2 separate regions of the Homo sapiens genome follow, and region 2 is linked to region 1. Evidence: promoter capture Hi-C in human tissues and cell types (Jung and others, 2019). All regions are on one chromosome and are shown on one strand. Each heading gives the region's core, a stretch centred on a gene start or on the middle of the fragment in contact. The rest is flanking DNA. Distances are from core to core; before and after follow the strand shown.

Region 1 (5,027 bases), core at 1,454-3,953:
GCTTTGAAGGATACAGTTTCATTTCGAGGAATGGAGAATATCTGTGCAAAGTTGGGGCAGTTCAGAGCAGAGTGAGCTGCAGACTGTTCTGCAGGTATGGGGCTGGAAGTCTTCACACGACCTCATAGTCCTGGCACCCAAACTTACTCAGACAATGGTGTGTCCGGAATTGGTGGGTTCTTGGTCTCACTGACTTCAAGAATGAAGCCGCGGACCCTCGCGGTGAGTGTTACAGCTCTTAAGGTGGCGCGTCTGGAGTTTGTTCTTTCTGATGTTCAGATGTGTTCGGAGTTTCTTCCTTCTGGTGGGTTCGTGGTCTCGCTGGCTCAGGAGTGAAGCTGCAGACTTTCGCGGTGAGTGTTACAGCTCATAAAAGCAGTGTGAACCTAAAGAGTGAGCAGCAGCAAGATTTATTGCAAAGAGTGAAAGAACAAAGCTTCCACAATGTGGAAGGGGGCCTGAGCGGGTTGCCACTGCTGGCTCGGGCAGCCTGCTTTTATTCTCTTATCTGGCCCTACCTATGTCCTGCTGATTGGTAGAGCCAAGTGGTCTGTTTTGACAGGGCGCTGATTGGTGCGTTCACAATCCTTGAGCTAGACACAAAGGTTCTCCACGTCCCCACCAGACTCAGAAGCCCAGCTGGCTTCACCCAGTGGATCCCGCACCGGGGCTGCAGGTGGAGCTGCCTGCCAGTCCCGCGCCGTGCGCTCGCACTCCTCAGCCCTTGGGTGGTCGATGGGACTGGGCGCCCTGGAGCAGGGGGCGGCGCTCATCGGGGAGGCTCGGGCTGCACAGGAACCTACGGAGGCCGGGGGCTCAGGCATGGCGGGCTGCAGGTCCTGGGCCCTGCCCCGCGGGAAGGCAGCTAAGGCCCGGCGAGAAATCGAGCGCAGCGCCGGTGGGCTGGCACTGCTGGGGGACCGAGTACACCTTCCCGAGCAGCCGCTGGCCCGGGTGCTAAGCCCCTCATTGCCCGGGGCTGGCAGGGCCGGCCGGCTGCTCCGAGTGCGGGGCCTGCCAAGCCTACGCCCACCTGGAACTCTAGCTGGCCCGCAAGTGCCGCGCGCAGCCCCGGTTCGTACTCGCGCCTCTCCCTCCATACCTCCCTGCAAGCTGAGGGAGCCGGCTCTGGCCTTGGCCAGCCTAGAAAGGGGCTCCTACACCTATAAGTGAGAATATGCGGTGTTTGGTTTTTTGTTCTTGCGATAGTTTACTGAGAATGATGATTTCCAATTTCATCCATGTCCCTACACAATGAGAACATATGGACACAGGAAGGGGAACATCACACTCTGGGGACTGTTGTGGGGTGGGGGGAGGGGGGAGGGATAGCATTGGGAGATATACCTAATGCTAGATGACGAGTTAGTGGGTGCAGCGCACCAGCATGGCACATGTATACATATGTAACTAACCTGCACATTGTGCGCATGTACCCTAAAACTTAAAGTATAATAATAATAATAAAAAAATCCAAAAAAAAAGAAAAGAAGAGAAAAGAAAGGGGCTCCCACAGTGCAGCGGTGGGCTGAAGGGCTCCTCAAGTGCCGCCAAAGTGGGAGCCCAGGCAGAGGAGGCGCCGAGAGCGAGTGAGGGCTGTGAGGACTGCCAGCATGCTGTCACCTCTCAGTGGGAGCAGGTGTGACAAGAGTTGGGCAAATCAGACCTTTAATCCACCCTGATAGGCTGGAGTGTGGGCTTATGGCATTTCTCCTTTGACCCAATTAACCTCCACTCCCAATGTATCTCTGTGCAGAAGGCTCAGCTAGGTGTATCAGCCATTGTAAATCCTCAACATAAATTATAATTTAACCTAGAATACAGAGACTAGGTAGCAGGAGGAGAGGAAATGTAGAGATACTAATCTCTTCTCCCTTATCAGAAAGAAACCTAGCATAAGAAATTTCACGCTTAATGGGCCAAAGAGTAAATCAGAAAACTCCATGGGTGATGGTATGCTCATGGTGGTGGTGGTGGTGATGGGGAATTATTTGCCCTCCTGTGACCTCCCTTGGATTAATTTCTCCCCAGGACAATGGGAAAAATCATTTAATCCTTGGAGTTTTTTTTTTTTTTTTTTTTTTTTTTTTTTTTTTTTTTGCTTGAGAGTGACTCTGATCCTGTTTCTGATGGTCATGTTCCTCAGCATCATACTGAGTAAGTCACTGGCCTTGTAGCATCTGGAGTGATTGGAGTGATCCAAGATCCCTAGTTCCCATGTCACAAATGAGGATCCCACATATCTGGGACAGAGATGGAACATTATTTCTGGGTGTGTCTATCTAATCTATTCATCCTATCTATCTAATTTCTCATCTATATATATATTTGCCTACCCATCCATCCATCAATCCATCTTAGCTGTACGTTTATCCATTCCATCTATTTATCCTATTATCTATGTATCTATCTATCATCTATTAATAGCTATCTATCCATCTGTCTAATATATCCATTATCTATATCTACTTTATCTATCTACCTAATGTATCCATCCTATCTACTCTATCTATCTGTGCATCTACCCATCCATCTGGACCCTGAGCTGATTCCTCTGCACCCAGCTGGCCTGACGCCAGGTGTTGATTGGCTGCCCAGGCTCAGGAGACACATCCAGGCTGCAGGGATTGGTTGGCCCAGCCCAACCCAGCCAGCCCTCCCACAGCCTTTGCTATATCAAGGGCCAGGGTCAAAGGCCTCCCAGCAGACAGAGAGAGGAGGTTGTCTGGGACAGACTGCTCCTGACAGAAGGTGCCAGGCTGGGGGTGGCAGGCCTGGGGGGGGTCCTGGCCTGGGATGGAGAGGGGCACTGCCCAAGGCCCACGCAGCTCCTGGGTGCTGGCCTGGAGGATGGGTGGTTTCCGAGTAACTGAAACCAAGCCCCTGGCAACCTCACAGTGATTCAGGCTGGGCCTTTCTGGACTTTAATCAGTCTCTCTCTCTCTTTCCCATTCTAAGTGCTTACTAGGGAACTGGAGGCCACTTGGCTGCTGGTTTTGGTTGGGCCTTTCTGGACTTTACCTCTCAGCCCCTTTTTACCCATCCCTGAGCCCTCCCTGCTCTACCTCCGGCACTGCCCGTCCCTGCCTCTCCACTGTCCCTGGAGGTCCCTGGGCCGTTCTCTGGGCCTCAGGATCTCACCGTCCATCCCGTCTGCCCTGCAGGATGTCCCAGCTGAGCCTGTCCTGGCTGGGCCTCTGGCCAGTGGCAGCATCCCCTTGGCTGCTCCTCCTGCTGGTCGGGGCCTCCTGGCTCCTGGCCCATGTCCTGGCCTGGACCTACGCCTTCTATGACAACTGCCGCCGCCTTCGGTGTTTCCCACAACCCCCAAGACGGAACTGGTTTTGGGGACACCAGGGCATGGTGAGTGTGGCAGCAGGATGGGTCTAGGTCTCAGGATGGATGGACTTCCTGAGGGGTACGAGGCTTAGGGAGTGGGGGTGAAGGGGTGGGCTGGGATCTGGGGTGGCAGAGAAGCAGAGGAGGCATCTTACTCATTCCTCTGCTTATTCATTTCTGTGAGGTGCCTACGCAAGCCCTTCTCACTTCCTTGTCCTCCCACTCCAGGCCTGCATTGAATCCTTTTCCTGCCTGTCTTCCCACATTAATGCACCTCTGCGGGGCTCCTGGGCAGAGGGTTGGCTGCACAGAGAGGCGAGTCCCTGGCATTCCCACATTCTCCATTGCTGGACTCGAGGCTTCTTATGCCCACTGTCCAGGGTCCTCTCCTTGCCTGGACTATTTCCTGTTATGAGGGTACAGCTGGGCCAGAGGAGAGGCATGGGCCGTCTCCCACTTCCACTACACCCGAAGGCACCTTTCTCTTATATTCTTCTTCTTATCTCCCTCTTATCAATGAGACCTGTTGCCAAACCCAGATAAAAGTTGGCCACTCACTTCACCTTTCAGAAGCTTTCCTTGGCCTTTCTCCTCCCCGTGACCTTGCCCTCTGACTTAGACCGCTCTCCTCTTTGGGGAATGTGGTCTTAGTCTGCTCATTTGCAAATGGCAGGATTGATGGATGTGTCCACAGATAAAGTGGAAGGGTGCACAGGACACACTAGCACAGAGCCTGCTGCAGAAGCTGCTCCCAGGTGGGAGCCATTGTCCTGATGGACAGTTAGAGTCACCTCTGCTCCACTAGTGGCTGCTGAAAAGGGAAGGTCTCCCATGTGCAGAACCTTCTCCATGGGAGGAACTGGAGCCTCTGTGGATCAGCCAGGACATGAAGGCATGTGGGGACCAGCCTTAGGGACATGTCCTGAGGCGATACTGCTCCCCACAAATCTCCCCTGTGAGGACCTCCCCATATAGCTGCCTCTGGGCTGAAATGACTCCCAGAAAAAGAAAATCCTTCCTCTCAAGATAACTGGGCCTCTGTGAGTGGACAGTGCGTCTTCTCCCTCTGCCCTGGGATGCACCCTTGGGACTTGGAGATGGACCCAAGAGAGATAGAGCAGGAGGAATGTGGATAGATAGATAGATAGAGCAGGAGGAATGTAGATAGATAGATAGATAGATAGATAGATAGATAGATAGATAGCTAATAGGATAGATAGATAGATGCACAGATAGGATGGATAGATGGATGGATGGATGGATGGACAGGCACGTAGGTAGATAGATAATAGAATAGATGGATGCATGGACACATGGATGCACAGATAGCATGGATGGATGGATGGATGGATGGATGGATGGATGGATAGATAGATAGACAAATAATAGGACATATGGATGCATGGACACACGGATGCACAGATAGGATGGATGGATGGATGGATGATGGATGGATGGGTAGATAGAGTAGATAGGATGGATAGATTATGTAGACAGATGGAGTAGATATATATGATGGATAGATTAGACGGATAGATGGCTATTAATAGATGATAAGCAGACAGACAGATGAATATATGGATGGATGAAAGCACAGATAAAATGGATTGATGGATAGATGGGTAGGCAGATAGATATATAGATAGAAAAATTAGATAGATAGGATGAATAGATTAGACACACCCAGA
Region 2 (5,027 bases), core at 1,604-4,103, 64 kb after region 1:
CTAACGCCAGCGTCTCCACTGCAATCCACATGGTTCTCAACTGTTAGTCCCTTTGTTGTACGTTTCAAATCGACGTGGCATTTAAATGATCATCGTTCCACAGAGCAGTGGCTGACTCTTTTAGGAAGATTTCTTTTCTGTCACCTTTTCACATATAAGGAAAGGAAAGGAAAACCACATGAAACGCCTCTGTTTACAAAAGCCTTTGTGCCGCTACTTTTATCTTAGACACCTCATCAGACTGCCTTTGGGTTGAGGTTCCTGTCACGCGTGTCCGTATAGAAGACACCCAATCAGGCTTTGTGTGAGCAACAAGGCTGTTAATTCACTTGGGTGCAAGTGGGCTGAGTCCGAAAAGAGAGTCAGTGAAGGGAGATAGGAGAGGGGCAGCTTTATAGGGCTTGGGTAGGCGTGGAAAGTTACAGTTAAAGGTGGTTATCCTCAGCAGAGGAGGGGGTCACAAGGTGCATGGTGGAGAGATGATGGGACTCATTGTCCAGGAGAAGAATGTCACAGGGTTGATTGATCAGTTGGGGCAGGGCAGGAACAAGTCATAATGGTGGACAAGTCATAATGGTGGAATGTCGTAAGGTGGGTTAATTAGTTAAGGCAGGAACTGGCTGTTTCACTTCTTTGTGGTTTTTCGGCTGCTCCAGACTTCTTGGCTCCTGCAGGCCACCTGGACGGATATGTGCAGGTCACAGGGGTTACAATGGCTAAGCTTCAGCTCACAGGCCTGACATTTTTGTCTTTTTATTTATAAAATATGAAGTTGTAGGAAAAGATTAAAAAAAAGTGTAAGTTCCTTCTGGGGATTACTGGGGTAGGGCTGATATTTCTCCGGACTGCTTCAAGTGTGACCAGGGACTGCGTGGACACCTTAAAGAAAATTTTATAATGAGTCTAGTAAGTTTCGGGTCTAGGGTGCATTTTTATGTAGCTAACAAGGTGCCAGTTAGCGTATTTTTGAGCTTGGAACTGCCCTAATAAAATAAGTTCTCTAAAAACAGTAATCAGGCATATTAGCTTTAATGTAGGTGGCGATGAGTTTTTAGGCCAAGGAAGGAATAATGTTTTATGTACCAAAGCCTTTTGTCCCCATTTTCCATCATACGAATAGTATTCCCTGTTGCTAAGCCGATGATACATTACCCTTTTCCCATAGGTGTGAGTGGCGGTCTGAATGGAGAAGTTCAATAGTTCTGATTGCAGATCCTATGCAGAAGAGATAATAAGGAAAATAATCTTTGTCTCCTGGATTAAGCTGAGGCTGGCAAAGAGTGAAATGTCCCAAGCCCTCTAACAACAAACAACATACTTTGTGTTGTCCTGGATGCTGGTCTGGTTGCCAAATATGTGGAACTGGCCCCATATGCGTGTACTGTTGTCCATTTCATGAGAGTAGGCTTGAGGACACCATGGGCAAGGATCTGATGGTTGCCAGCCTAAGCGTTTTAGACTTTTGACCCAGAGATTTTTTGTTTTGGGTGTGGAAAAAATTTTAGAGGATAGGGTCTCAAGATATAATCCTTTTTATAGGCGGCAGGTCTTAAGAGATGAGGGTCCAGAGGAACGGATGAAGCCTGCTTGGAAGCATGCTGGGATGGCCATTTGGAAGGAGTGTTGCAAGGAAGCATGGCCTTGGCTGGGCGCTGCCAGGAGCTTAAGGGTTGTAGGTTGTTTGTCTGATCGGCTCTCGGCCTAATCTTGTGGCTTCCAGGAGGAAGAGGAGAGATCAAGCTGGCTGTCTGATGGGCATGGCTTTATTCTGGAATGGTGAACCCAATGGAGAGGGTCCTGCAGATGGACGGCAGTTGGTGTGCTATAAATGACCGGGTAGGGTCTGGTCCATTGAGGCTGTAGAGTTTGAGGGGTCAGACTTTTGACAAGGACTGATCGTCCAGCTAGGGTGTCTTCATATGGCTGGGAATCTGGAGTAGGCAAGAGAAGATTAGCAGCTTGGCAAATTTCCTGTCTAGCCTGCTAGAGGACTGGAAGATAGTTGCCCAGGGGGCTGGTGTCTGGAACAAGATTGTGGCTGAGTAAGAAGGTGCATCCATATAAAATTGAAATGGGTTGTACCCTGTGGCTTCTCAAGGACAGGCCCTAATTCTGAGGAGGGCAAGTGGTAAAAGTACTGTCCAGTCCTTTTTAAGTTGGAGGCTGAGCTTGGTGAGGTGTGTTTTTAAAAGACCATTCATCCGTTCTACCTTTCCTGAAGATTGAGGACGGTAGGGGGTATGAAGTTTCCACTGAATACCAAGAGCCTGAGAAACTGTGGAAGTAGGGAGGCCAAATTGGGGGATTATATCTGTCAGAAGGGAAGAAATGACTGTAGTAGCCTTTCAGAGCTAGTGGGAAAGGCCTCGACCCATCCGGTGAAGGTATTGGCCCAAACCAGGAGATATTTAAATTTACAGACACGCGGCATATGAATAAAGTCAATTTGCCAATCTTGTGTCGGAGGAAATCCATGAGCCTGATGCGTAGGAAAAGGAGGAGGCCTGAGAAGACCTCGGGGGTTGGTGGCATGGCAGACAGAGCATTGAGAGGTGATGGTTTTAAGGATGGATTTCCATGATGGGATGGAAATGAGGGGCTGTAGGAGGCCAGCCAGAGGCTTATATCCTATATGGAAATGGTCATGAAGGGAAGAGAGAGTAGACTGGGCTTGTGAGGCAGGAAGAACGAATTTTCCATGATCTAAGAACCACTTGCCCTGAGTTGGAAAAGACTGGTAGAGCAGGTTTTTTAGAAGAGGAGTAGGTGGGGGTGATAGAGAAGAAAGAAAAGTACTAGCCTTTTGGGGTGAGGGCTAGAATATTTGCAGGCGTGGAGGCATTTGCTGTTTCTTTTGCTGTCCTGTTGGCGTAGGCATTTCCTTTAGCAATAAGATCAGTTGGTTTCTGGTGTCCTTTACAATGAATGAACCCAGCTTTGGCCAGCAAGAGAGCAGCATTAAGGAGGGCCTTTATTAGAGAGGTATTGATAATGGAAGAGCCTTGTGTGGTGAGAAAACCTCTTTCAGTCCAAAGGGTAGCATGGTTGTGGAGGATGTGGAAAGCATATTAGGAGTCAATATAAATTTTAATGTGCATTCCTTTGGCGACAGAGAGTGCACAAGTTAAAGCAATCAGTTTGGCTTGTTGGGAAGTAGTGGAGGGAGGAAGTGCAGCAGCCTCAATAATAGAGGTATGGGACACGACAGCATAACCAGCTTTAGCTGGCGAGATTTGACTGGGTTTAGAGGAACTGCCATGAATAAACCAAGTGTGGTCTGGATTTGGGATTGGAAAAATAGAAATATGAGGAAAGGGGGAAGATGCTATGTGTATTAGGGAGATACAATCATGTTGGCCAGGACTTGTGTTGGGTGCTAAGTGAGAAGCTGGGTTGAAATCGGGCCCATGGGCAGTAGTTATTGTTGGGGTTTCAATAAAGAGTGAATAGAGCTGGAGATGTCGAGGGGCAGACAGCAAGTGTGAAAGGTGTGAGGAGGATATTAATGCTTGAAGGTTGTGAGAACTGTAGAGGGTAAGTGGAGCATAGCCTGTGATTTTGAGAGACTCTGGAAGTGTTAAAGCGGCAGCTGCCACCACATGTAGACATGAGGGCCAGCCTAGAATTGTGAGGTCAAGTTGTTTGGATAGAAAGGCTATAGGTCGTGGGCCTGGCTCCTGTGTGAGAACTCCAGCAGCACAGCCTTGTGTTTCAGCTGTGTGTAAGGAAAAAGGTTGGGACAAGTCAGGGAGTGCTAGTGTGGGAGCTGTTTCTAGGGCCTTTTTGAGAGAATGAAAGGAAGCATGGGGAAAGGACTTATGGTCTATGGGATCAGCTAAATTACCTTTAGTGAGTTTGTAAAGCAGTTTGGTTAGAATGGCAAAACCTTGGTACCCAGAGTCGGAAGTATCCAACAACGCCTAAGAAGGAAAGGAGTTGTTGTTTGGTGGTGGGGAATAGGGTCTGGGAGATTAACTGAACACAGTCTGCAGGAAGAGTGCGTGTATGTTGATGGAGGACTATGTCGAGATATGTAACACTAGGGGAGGAAATATGAGCTTTAGAGGGGGATACTCAGTACCCCTTTGAGTAGAGATATTGAAGAAGTAGGATAGGATAGTGTCCTGCTGGGAAGATTGGTAAGAAGGGCTGCAAAGAAGAAGGTCTTCAACATATTGAATAAGGTGGGAGGCAGATGGGCAGAAAGAAAGTCATGAGAGAGGGCCTGACCAAAGTAGTGTGGGCTGTCCCTGAAACTTTGGGGTCGGACAATCCAGGTGAATTGCTGGGACTGGTGGGTGTCAGGGTCAGTCCAAGTAAAGGTGAAAAGAGGTTGGGAGGAGGGATGCAAGGGGATGGTAAAGAAGGCATCTTTGAGGTGGATAACAGAATAATGAGTTGTGGAAGGGGGTGTCGAGGAGAGGAGAGTATAGGGTTTGGCACAACAGGATGGATGGGAAGGACAATCTGATTTATGAGGTGAAGGTCTTGAACTAGCCTCTAGGACTTGTCCGGTTTCTGGATGGGTAGGATAGGGGAGTTGTAAGGAGAATTTGTAGGCTTCAAAAGGCCACGTTGTAACAGGCAAGTGATAACAGGCTTCAGTTCCCTTTAAAGCCTGCTGCGGGCTGGGATACTGGTATTGAGCAGGGTAAGGGTGATTAGGTTTTAATGGAATGGTAAGGAGTGCATGGTCAGTTGCCAAAGAAAGAGTAGAAGTATCCTATACTTGAGGATTAAGGTGGGGAGATACAAGGGGAGGATGCGAAAGAGGCCTTGAATTGGGGAAAAGGACAGCAATGGGGTGTGGCTGTAGCCCAGCAATAGTCAGGGAAGCAGATAATGTGGTTAAAATATCTCAGCCTAATAAGGGAACTGGGCAGGTGGGGTTAACTAAAAAGGAGTGCATAAAAGAATGTTGTCCAAGTTGGCACCAGAGTTGGGGAGTTTTAAGGGGTTTAGAAGCTTGGCCGTCAATACCCACGGCAGTTACGGGGGCAAAGGAAACAGGCCCTTGAAAAGAAGGT

The links. The method cuts DNA at HindIII sites, captures the fragments that hold promoters and counts their contacts. A contact is called where the count stands out against the background at its distance.
Region 2: a contact is called between a fragment that was not itself captured here and the fragment with the promoter of CYP4F2 in region 1, in 2 of the 25 tissues and cell types used here (bladder and dorsolateral prefrontal cortex).

The regions. Positions count from the first base shown.
Region 1 is chr19:15,895,750-15,900,776 of GRCh38, reverse strand. CYP4F2 (cytochrome P450 family 4 subfamily F member 2) reads left to right here and starts at 2,703. Exons shown (of 13, transcript NM_001082.5): 1 at 2,703-2,751; 2 at 3,165-3,363. The coding sequence starts at 3,166. The HindIII fragment of the contact is 5,329 bases long and covers 159-5,027 here.
Region 2 is chr19:15,831,406-15,836,432 of GRCh38, reverse strand. LOC124900418 (collagen alpha-1(I) chain-like) reads right to left here. Exons shown (of 3, transcript XM_047439793.1): 3 at 1-1,215. The coding sequence starts at 31. It overlaps UCA1 (urothelial cancer associated 1), which reads right to left. Exons shown (of 3, transcript NR_015379.3): 3 at 112-1,931. Among named protein-coding and RNA genes, the nearest start is that of UCA1, 5.0 kb to the right of the region's middle. RefSeq lists an enhancer at 296-1,495. The HindIII fragment of the contact is 5,632 bases long and covers 38-5,027 here.